Linked DNA regions of Homo sapiens: regions 2, 3 and 4 are each linked to region 1. The links are contacts of gene promoters, found by promoter capture Hi-C in blood cells and fetal thymus (Javierre and others, 2016). All regions are on one chromosome and are shown on one strand. The core of a region is centred on a gene start or on the middle of the fragment in contact, and the rest is flanking DNA. Distances in the headings are between cores, read along the strand shown.

Evidence for each region. The method cuts DNA at HindIII sites, captures the fragments that hold promoters and counts their contacts. A CHiCAGO score of 5 or more calls a contact.
Region 2: a fragment that was not itself captured here is called in contact with the fragment with the promoter of SEL1L in region 1 in 2 of 17 cell types (total CD8 T cells and total CD4 T cells); the score reaches 7.0 in total CD8 T cells.
Region 3: a fragment that was not itself captured here is called in contact with the fragment with the promoter of SEL1L in region 1 in 1 of 17 cell types (naive CD8 T cells); the score reaches 6.1 in naive CD8 T cells.
Region 4: a fragment that was not itself captured here is called in contact with the fragment with the promoter of SEL1L in region 1 in 1 of 17 cell types (total CD4 T cells); the score reaches 6.8 in total CD4 T cells.

The regions. Positions count from the first base shown.
Region 1 is chr14:81,532,560-81,535,462 of GRCh38, reverse strand. It overlaps SEL1L (SEL1L adaptor subunit of SYVN1 ubiquitin ligase), which reads left to right and starts at 1,610. Exons shown (of 21, transcript NM_005065.6): 1 at 1,610-1,788. The coding sequence starts at 1,719. RefSeq lists a silencer at 1,487-1,606 and an enhancer at 1,323-1,822. The HindIII fragment of the contact is 11,079 bases long and covers 1-2,903 here.
Region 2 is chr14:80,969,500-80,972,199 of GRCh38, reverse strand. The region is part of intron 1 of TSHR (thyroid stimulating hormone receptor); the gene reads right to left. Among named protein-coding and RNA genes, the nearest start is that of TSHR, 15 kb to the right of the region's middle. The HindIII fragment of the contact is 4,350 bases long and covers 1-2,700 here.
Region 3 is chr14:80,923,118-80,925,817 of GRCh38, reverse strand. The region is part of intron 2 of CEP128 (centrosomal protein 128); the gene reads left to right. Among named protein-coding and RNA genes, the nearest start is that of CEP128, 17 kb to the left of the region's middle. The HindIII fragment of the contact is 1,107 bases long and covers 716-1,822 here.
Region 4 is chr14:80,988,255-80,990,954 of GRCh38, reverse strand. All of the region lies in intron 1 of TSHR (thyroid stimulating hormone receptor), which reads right to left. Among named protein-coding and RNA genes, the nearest start is that of TSHR, 34 kb to the right of the region's middle. The HindIII fragment of the contact is 1,832 bases long and covers 424-2,255 here.

The DNA of each region.
Region 1 (2,903 bases), core at 361-2,860:
ATAGGCATATGAAAGCAGTGTTTAAGGAAAATTAATATGGCCATGATATGTGATTCAGGTTAAAGGGAGAATGATGTCAGTGAGTATGGCTGGAACTCAGGTGCATCATCCAGGTGAGAGAAAATGAAAGCCATTAGGGGAGTTTTCAGTGAGGAAGAGAACAGAGGTACATAATAAAATAAAACAATTTAAAAGTTACATAGTTTAAACTGATAGAACTTGATTATCAATAAGATGAAAAAGAAAGGAAAATATACCAGATTTTACTCTATGATTTATAATCAGAGGAACTCAGAGGGAACATTGTTAGTGACAGAAATGGTGATGTAGCTGAAAAGACAAGTTTTTGGAGGAGATAATTCTTTCCTTCATCTCCTCCGATGTGAATGAGAAACAGTGGTTGGTTTTTTACCATCTTCCTGAAAATAAAAGGCTGTATCTCAAAAAACAAAAAACAAAAAACAAAAAAAAAAAGGAAGGAAGACAAATGCCCAGAAGTGTTAAGACACATGGCCAGCAGAGACTTTTCCAAAGTCCTTCACTTGGCTGGACTAGGTTCTAGGCCTTAGAGCTGACTGTGGGTGGATGACAGGGAAAGCAGAATGACACGGTTTGAGAAAAGAAAGGGCAGGCACACCAAGTCACTGCTCTGCTACTCAGTTGGAACATGCCTGGATTTCGTGCTTATTACATAGAGTATTTCCGTGCCTGCGATGCAATCACTATCACCTCTACCTCCACACACGTGAACCTGGTCTCCTGACTTTAGTTAGGAAAGAAGAGAACAATGCAACTCACAAGAGGAGAAGGATGAGGACAAGTGTTTAAAATAATTTTTCAAAGCTGTTGGCACATTTTCTTTATGATTATTGTCTGGTGAACCTAGTGAAAATAAATACTGTATTGAGATAATCTGTGCCGAGCGGATTTATTTCCTTTTGTTTTGTCGGAGAAAGGAGGACAGGTACTGAGTTGCACCCTGGTTTCCGTACTTCACGGTACTGTTTTATCTAAGTTTTAAAAAACACCTCAAATTCAACTAGCTGTGGCATTTTTCTCAGTGCTCTTATCACTATGCCCAATTTAAATTTTTTAAATAAAACAGGAAAAGATGCTAAACACATTACAAGTTCTTAAAATTATTCCTTAATATTTATTTTGGGTCAATTTAAAAAGGCTTGTGAATCCATAGCCTTGAGTTAATATTTAGCCCAGGTGTTAGTTAAATTCTAACTTCAACAGTCACCCGCACTTGTAAATCTTGCCCTACGATGGACTACGTTTCCCAAGAGCACCCCCCGAGTTAATCACATGAAGCGCATTCTGGGAATTGTAGTCTCGGATGAGCCTCTTTCTCCCAGTCTTGGACTCACGCGCTGATTCCGGTTGAACCCAGGGGCTACCAATTAGCTGGGGCCATGTCCGTGAGTCGTGGTCCAACCGAGAAAGCTGGTGTGGGAGCTTCGTACAATGATTGGCCAATGAATGACCCCCGGGGCGGAGCAATGGGGGTGGGCGGGGAGACCATGGTGATTGGACCAGAAGCCCGCGACGGCGGGCGGGGATTGGCTGCGCGCTGGGTCAGGGAAGCCTGGGAAGGGGCGGAGGAAGGAGACTAGAGCAGGAAGAGCAGCGGCGAGGCGGCGGTGGTGGCTGAGTCCGTGGTGGCAGAGGCGAAGGCGACAGCTCTAGGGGTTGGCACCGGCCCCGAGAGGAGGATGCGGGTCCGGATAGGGCTGACGCTGCTGCTGTGTGCGGTGCTGCTGAGCTTGGCCTCGGCGTCCTCGGGTCAGTATCCGCCCCCTCGGGCTGAAGGCCCAGAGCCTCCGCCCCCCAGCCTCTACAGCCGGCGGGGCCGTGGGGACTCCAGGCTCGGGACCCCGTTCTCCCTGGGCACATCTCGCACTGGGCTGTCACTCGCTCTTTGGCTTTGCTTGGCCTGCGCCAAAGGGGCTATTTAGGAAGGTGGAGTGGGGTGGAAAAAGAAGGGGCGGTCACCCTGCCCACACCTCTCTCCCACGTAACAAACTTTGCGCGACTCTTCTCACGAACGCGGAATTGACTCCAAAGGAATGAATCCTGATACAGGAGCCCGAGTGGAGCTTCCTCGACCCTGGGGTAGAGGAAGGGTCTGGTCTAGAACTCTGGGCTTGGGAATTGTAAGTTAAATAATTGACAAACCTGGAGCTGTCACTTTGGGGCAGAGGAGGATCCATCCAGACCAGGATGTTGACAGTAGTTTGCTTAACACCTGAGATGGTCCCTGGTCTGTCTGTTTAAAAACGAAGACTTTTGATCTCATCGTAGCCACTTTTTACTTTTTTGAAACCTTCCTGAGAAAGCGGTGACCTGTCACAGTGTTTCTGAGTTGCCCCATGTTTGTTGACAGTCATTTTATGATGTTTGGGAAAATCTTGGTTCTTATAAGATGCGTTTTATATAGATACAGAAATTTGTGTGCTTTTGAATTGATTTTCCAGTTAGCTAATGTTTATTCTGGTTCTGCTTTTTTCCCCCTTTTTTAATGTTTTAATCTGCCTACATTTGAAAATTTCCATTTTGAGAGTGTTCATGAAAACTTCGTGTTTCTAAGTGTTGATAAATAAAAATTAGTACAGTAAAACTTTGGAATTTTAATCAGTTTCAGTTAACAGGACAGGTGTTCTGTGGCTTGACGTTTTGGGGGGACAACACGGAGTATAAATGTCAGCTTTTTCTTTTTTTAATAAATGTCAGCTTTTTTTTAACAGAAAATTTCCCAGATGGTTATCTGAATCCCCAAATTACCTGTCCTAGTTGTAAATCAATGCCATAACGTCATTCTGCTTCTAAAATAAGAGGCTTAAACCTAAATTCTATCCATGATGTGGTTTGAGATACCATTTCAAAAGCACCAACCCTAT
Region 2 (2,700 bases), core at 127-2,626, 560 kb after region 1:
ATAAAAGTAACTTGGATTAATAACTCACAATAGATAACAATCATGGCAATTTTCATAAATCCAAACACTGAAGAACTAGGTGTTTTGTAATTATAGCTTATACTTCATTTATCTGGCTTCAAGGCATGAATTTAAATCTAAACATTTGTGTTATGGAAAATTCTTCCCTCTAGTACTGTGTATAGTAACCACATCAAGTTACTATATTTCATCATCTTAAGAGGCACATATTTTAAAACTTTAATGTCTCAGGAACCAGGAATTCATTGATTAAAAGTGTTGCTGGATCCCCCTAGGGAAGTGTAGGGAAAGTGTATACCACTACAAGTATTATTGGTGACTGTCCCCCAATCATTCCTAAAAGGGACCTGTGGCCAGTTGCCAAAGTAACTGTCAACTGGTAAACAGAAATCCAAGGCTTCTTGAAGATCATTGGATACAAGGTTTGAGCTTATACTGACAGGAGTATGTCCAAGGATAAATTGCAGATATTAGTGTCAACTTGAAAGACTTAAAGGATGCAGAATGGTGGTGCTTCATATCCTTTCAATTCACCTATCTGCCCCCTGTAAGAAACAAAACCAACAAAAACCCCAAACAAATAGATTAAGGTGAATGACAATGCACTTTAACAAACTTAACCAATAGGTAGGTTCTATCATAGCTGCTGTGCCAGATATGTCTTCACTGGAACACATCAGCACAGCCTGTAGCACTTTATATGTGATTATCAATCTGGTGAATGTGTTCTCTTCTTGATTCCTATCAATAGAGAGAATCAAAAGTAGTAAACCTTTATCTAGGAACAATAGCAATACCAATTCACTGCTTTGCCCAAGGGGTTCCATTTCATAAGAGTTTGTGGGGACGGATAATCTGGACATCACGCACATCATCATACTGGTCTGCTACCTGATGATATGCTAATTAGAGTTGGTGGGCAAAAAGTAGAAAGAAGCCTAGCTAGTCTAGTAAGAAATCTGAAGGTTGGGGGCAGCAGATAAATCCCACAAAGATTCAGGGACCTCTTCCATTAGCAACATGCTTAGTCTGCGGCATTCTAAAAAATCCCTTCTGGCCAGGTATGGTGGCTCACGCTTGTAATCCCAGCACTTTGGGAGGCCGAGGTGGGTGGGTCATTTGAGGTCAGGAGTTCAAGACCAACCTGGCCACCCGTCTCTACTAAAAATACAAAAATTAGCCGGGCAGTAGTGGCATGTGCCTGTAATCCCAGCTACTTGGGAGGCTGAGGCAGGGTAATTGCTTGGGCCTTGGAGGCAGAGGTTGCCACAAGCCAAGCTAATGCCAGCCAAAAAATGAACTACTGCTGCACTGCAGTCTGGGTGACAGAGTGAGACCCTGTCTCACAAAAAAATCCCTTCTAAGGTATAGGACATACAGTTGTATCTTGCCCTTTCTACCTTTTACAAAGAAGTACAGCACTTGCTGGGCGTCTTGGCTTTTGGCAGCAGTGTAACCCATTTTCCCATTTATCAGATAACTCAGAAGGCTGCCAGTTTCAGGTAGGACCTACAAGAGTCTATAACAGATTCAGGCTGAAATGCCAGCTTCCCTGCCATGTGGGCCATACAGCCCAGCCCAGCAGGTCTTACAACACTACAGATATCCATCCTGGACAAGGATATTCTGTGGACTCGCCAGCAGGTCCCAAGAAGAGAATGAAAGCTCAGGCTCTTAAAGTTTTGGAGCAAGGATCTGCCTTCTGAAGGACAGAAATACCCTTTATGAGGAAAATAATTCCTGACATGCTATTCTGCCCTAGTAGAGACTGAGATCTCTTCAATGGGACACTAAGTGACTCTGTGACTACAGCTGCCCATTGTGAATTGGGTATTGCCAGTTCTACTACATAAAATAAGGTGAGCACAGCAGCAATTGATTTTATGATAGAAATTTTACATTCTGGATCAAGAAAGTCTAGAAAGGGAAGGTAAATTCATGAATAGGTGGCCTAGACTCCCACTTCACTTATTTCTGCTGCACTCTCACTGAAATTGGCTTCATGGAGAGCTCCATATGACCACTTGATGGAGTTCATAGGTTGGTGTCTGCTTTACAGATTGGCACAAGCTAATGCCAGCCAAAAAAAATGAACTACTGCTGCATTACAGCCCCACTCAAGGGTGGCCCTAAAGGATAGTGGTGAAGGGAAATCTTCACAGTCAGTTCATCTGTGAGCATTATAGCAATCATTCTTTTTGTATGAAGGGAGAAAGAACCGTGGCAAGGGTATACATGGAATACCAAGAAGTAGCAAGTAATTTACCTGGTTGACCACTGGCCTAGAAAGAATACTATTGGAAAACAGAGAACAAGAAAGTCTAGGAAACAAATATGGCTATATCTATGGGGGTGGGAACAAATTCTGTGGACCTTTGTGTCTCACGTTAATGCTCATCAGAGAGTATCCACTGATTACTCTGGTTTGCGGTGAATCTCAACACCCAGGTAGACTAGATGACTCATTTTATAAATGCCATCCAGTTTTGGAGAAATGAACATGAATGAAGTGGTCATGGTGACAGGAATGGAAGCCAAGCATGGACCCAATGGCTTGGGCTCCTTTTCATCAAGTCTAATCAAGATACTTCTCCTGTAAATGACCAACCTTTCAGCAGTATAGCCCATTGCTGCACCCTTGGTAAGGCACATTTCTTTAAAGAGAACAGCCAGTCATTT
Region 3 (2,700 bases), core at 20-2,519, 610 kb after region 1:
ATGCTCTGGCAACTCCCAGTTTTCCTCCTGGTTTATCATGTAGACTACTGCCCACTGCTTCTTTCAAAGGGTTTGTGGTTTCTTTCAGTGTTTTTTAAGTTCCTGTGTTGCTTCTTGGAAGAAAGTTCATAGCATGACTTTCTACACACTATTTTGTTTATCCCAGTGGGAGAGGCATGCCAATAATGCCTCCATTCCACTATCTTGGAGAAAAAAAAAACCAAAAAAACAAAAAACCCTTCCAACACTTTCTATGACAAAGTTTAACATCACACTAGCTACAAAGGAGAAATATTTAAAGGCCTCAGCTCTGTTTGCAAAGAGCAGACAATGAAGGATGGATTTGGAGTTGAAAGGCAATTCATTGATTACTGGGAAATTCTAACAGTTTTTTTCTCACTTTTTTGAAACCCTTCTTTTCATAACTTCTGTTGTACAATTTCCCCTAGTTTTTCACCTACTTCTCATGTTTCTTCTCAATCTCATTGGCCACCTCCTCTGTCTGCCTTTTGTATGTTGGAGTTCTTGCGGGGTTTTCTTTGGTTCTACTTCTTTTCTCACTGTGCATTTTTTTTCTTGGTGGTCTTATCCACCCCTATACTGATGACTATCAAATATTTCCTTAGACTCACATATCCGGTTGCATATTAGACATCTTTAGTTTGATATTTCCTCCCATGAAACACAAATTGATCCTCTCTTTCTAATTGAAGCTTAGACAAGTTCAATTTAGAACATATGTTCTCCTAAAAGCTCTTTCTTTTCATTGATTTCTTTGCTCAGTTTAATAGTTCAGGATCCATCCAGCTACCAAAACCAGAAACTTGTGATTCATCTTTTACTCTTTTACCTTGCCATCAGAGTTAATTCATCCCTGCTATACTTCATCTCCACTGCCATTGTCTTAGGTGCTCACCATTCATTACCTAATGATTGCAACAGCCTCCCAGCTGTTCTACTGTTGATGTGCTTATTACCATGTCACTCCCCACTCAGGATCCTTCAGTTTTTTTTCTTTAGTTATAGTAGTGGCTTTCAAATGTTTTTATTTTCTTTTGAAAATAGTAGAATCATTAAAAAAAACCCCCATGAAACCATAGAATGAAAATCAGACGAGGGCAGAACTTCCCTGGTAGAAGGATGCAAGAGCTCAGCTTATTTGGATCCTGTCTACTTTTCTCTAGACAGGTTTTAAGTGGATCCTATTTCCTTGTCTCATCCACCTGTCAAACTTATGTGCATCCTTCAAGATGAGTGGAAAAATCCTAACCTGACTCCCCAAGGATTTTGTTGTATTACTTAGCTCACCGTTTATAATACACTTAAATGTCCTTCTCTCCCATCAAGACTATGACTTATTTATTTACTTTCATCTTTCATTTCTAATGTAGTGACAACTCATTAAATGATGAAAAATCAATTTAAGTATCTGATTCTGTTTCCTAATGTATTATGTTCACTAACATAACAGAACTGACTGGTGGACTGGACAGTTGATTTTGATCTTTTATAAATTTACCAAAAGACTTTGAGGAGATGAAGTTACAGAAGAGCACTGATGTAAAGAAGACAGGTACAATTGTTAATTGTTTCTGCATGGTAATGTCTCCTGGCTTATTAACTTTTTCACTAGAAGGATAAGGCAAAGCTCTCAAGTCCTACAGCTATTGAAACTCTTAGTTCATTTTCATACTGCTATAAAGATATGACATGAGATTGGGTAATTTATAAACAAAGAGGTTTAATTGACTCACAGTTCCGCATGACTGGGGAGACCTCAGGAAACTTACAATCATGGTGGAAGGTGAAGGGGAAGCAAGCTTGGACCTTCTCATATGGTGGCAGGAGAGAGAAGAGTGAGGAGCGAAGAGGGAAGAGCCCCTTATAAAACCATCAGATCTTGTGAGAACTCACTATCATGAGAACAGCATGGAGGAAACTGCCTCCATGATCCTGTCACCTCCCATCAGGTCTCTCACTAAATGCATGGGGATTATGGGGATTACAATTTAAGATGAGATTTGTGTGGGGACGCAAAGCCTAACCATATCAGAAACAGTGAGAAATACATAAAATTTGAATTTTGTTAATGATTAAGTGTAAAGTACACTCCCAATTTTCCCTTACCCCCCTAAGTATCAACACAATTACCTTGAGCATCTTCTTTGAGGATGATTACCTTGGGCAGGGACAGCTGAGGCACTTGGAGGCCACAGAAGCAATCACCTACTTAACATGCACTAGTCAGTCTTTGTGAAATATCACCCCTGATGCTGGGTGCTTATCTTTTATGGAACAGCTTGCAAATCCTAATTGTTTTAAACTGGCTCAGAGGAAAAGAGGTTTGAGAATCAATAAATTACAGCTCTCATACATACAAATGTGCATCATTATAATGAAGACAATCTGATGGCTCTTTAGGTCAAATAACAAAAGAGGTGGACTTGAGTTTGTAAAGGCTCATTGCCAATCCTCTTATTACAAAGGTTGAATTCAGTTTTACTCTCTCTAGTTGGAGTATTCAAGTTTGCATATGGGCATTTGTTTCAGATGGATAGATCCTCAGTGGGAGTGAATTGATGAGGATTTGTTATTTGCTCTGGTGGCTGTATTTCTTCTTTATAAGGTTCATTAAGACAGAAGCAACAATATTTATGCCTTTAAATACTGATTTGTTGGGAGCAGCTAAATAAGCTATTC
Region 4 (2,700 bases), core at 90-2,589, 540 kb after region 1:
AGCCAGGCGCAGTGGCTCATGCCTGTAATCTCAGCATTTTGTGAGGCCGAGGTGGGTGGATCACCTGAGGTCAGGAGTTCGAGACCAGCCTGGCCAACATGGTGAAACCCCGTCTCTACTAACGATATAAAAATTAGCCAGGAGTGGTGGTGGGCACCTGTAATCCCAGCTACTGGGAAGGCTGAGGCAGGAGAATCGCTTGAACCCAGGAGGCGGAGGTTGCGGTAAGCCGAGACTGTGCCATTGCGCTCCAGCCTGGGCAACAAGAGCGAAACTCCGTGTAAAAAAAAAAAATTCTGTTTCAGCCTGTCTCTTAAAGAAAGCCATCACCAGTTTTGTGTTTCCAACATCAATGGATTTCAAAAACCAAAATAGGAACAATCTCAAGTAACAGGGTTAAGTAACAGGTGTAGGTTCAAAGCTTTTTTTATTGGACATATCTTATTTGCATCCTCTTCCACTCTGGACTCAACCGAGGAACCTTCCCGCAGGGCATGGAATCTGGCTTTCCAAAGAGCCATCAAAGGGGCCAGATGACAGAACTGGAAGTGCAGGGGAGTAACTTTGATCGGTGGGAAAAAAGATATGAGACGATATGGGGACAGTAAGTTGCTTATTATGAGCTGCCCCAAGGCATAGGTCCATACAGCCTGGCCACAGATACCTTGCTTGGATGTACAGACCACTTGCCACATTCCCTGCTGGGTTTCCAGGTTCGCTGGGAAGCAGTAGTCACTGCATTGTCCCTTAGCCCTTCCTGCCTTTTCTTTCTCCTTACTCTCACATCAGCAAGTAATCTCTGCCTCACACTCTGTTTTCCAGGGAACTCTGGCTAAAAATATCTATTAACCAGTACGTTAAATGTTCATTTCAATCCAGTATAGCTTTTGTGAACCTACTATATGAAAGGTGCTATATTGGATATTATAAGGAATTAAAGCTGAATAAAATTTAATCCTTGACTTTTGGCACTAATGGTCCGGAAGAGAAGCTAAAACAATTGCATAGGCAGCATAGCTCTGGAAAACAATTCAGGAGAGTTGGGTTCTAGGTCTGGCTCCGTTGGTCGCTGGCTGATATTTAATCTTGAGCAAGACATTTACTCTTTCTGGGTCTCAGTTCCCTTAGCTGTAAAATACAGGGTTGTCTTAGGTAACCTCTAAAGTGTCTTCCACAACTAAAATCCAAACCTCTAAAGTGTCTTCCACAACTAAAATCCGATGATTTTATAAATTTAGTCGAATAGAAGTGAGACTAAAATGCAATCCACACGCTGTGGGAACCCAGGACTTAAGGATTTGGGAAGGCTTTGGGAAGAATAAGGCATTTGATCTGAGACTTGAAGGATTTGTAGGATTTTGATAGGCAGGGAACAGATGGGAATTTCAAGCAGAAAGAAAAGCATAAACAAAGAAGTGCAAAAGGAAGATTGCAATGTGCATTCAGGAGAGCTGTGAATAGTTCAGTTTGGTTGTGGCAAGGCGTAAATTAAGTTATCTAAATTAAAGAGGTTGGTAAATCAGAAATGGAAGATGTCGACTGCCATGTTAAAAATTTGAGCTTTAACGGATATTCATTGACCCAACATATCCATGGAACACCTACTATGAGAGAATGAGTGAGGTGCCGAGAACATAGAAATAAAGAAAATATAGTTGCTGCCCTGAAGAATCCTCAAGGGGCTTATGAGCAGTGGGCAGGGAAGTGGTAACCACAAGTGAAGCTAGTGTAAAAAATGCTGTAACAAACGAAACTGAAGTGGAGGGAAAAGAAGTGTGGGTCATTTCAAGGTGCAATTAACATAAAAGAGGCAGAGGAAGAGTCAATGATAACAGAAGTAAGGACAATGGGGAAAAGAGAAGCATAAGTAGTTTTGTTAACAGAAAGGTAAGTTCATTTTGGGTGCTGAATTTGAGGTGCTCCCAGACAACTAGACAGAAATGTCTAACTGGTAGAAAAAATACTGGTGTGTGGCTAGCTTGAGATGTTGGCGCAAGTGATATGAGTATATTCTGTGAGTGACTCATAGGTCTGGAGAGATGTGTCAAGAAAGAAAATATAGACAGAAAAGAAGATCAAGGGGAGTAGTTTGGGGGAATGCCCACATTAAACAGTCAGAAAAAGTAGGAGGTGTGGACCAAGAAGACAGAATCAAACTATCAGAGATGTTCGACAATCAGCATAAAGGATGTTGAAGGATGAAAGAATTTCAAGGAAGATGAGAGGGGTGAATTAAATCAGAGGCTCCTCAAGCTTAGTGGACCAAATGCATCCAAATCAGTTGAGACATGTCTTTAGAATATGGAATTTGTGCCTACATGGATCCTTAAGAAACTGTTAACAAGGATTGCCTTAGGAGAGGAAATGTAAGGAAACTAAGGGGAAGTGATATGGTTTGGATCTGTGTCCCTGTCCAAATCTCAGGTCAAATTGTAATCCTCAATGTTGGAGGTGGGGCCTGGTGGGAGGTGATTAGATCATGGTGGGTAGATCTCCCCTGCCGTGCTGTTCTCATGATAGTGAGTGAGCTCTCATGAGATCTGGTCATTTAAAAGTGTGTGGCACTTCCCCACCCCCTTCCTCCACACCTACTTCCCCTTCACCTTCTGCCATAATTGTAAGTTTCCTGAGGCTTCCCCAGAAGCCAAGTAGATGCCAGCATCATGCTTCCTGTACAGGTTGCATAACTCTGTGCCAAAT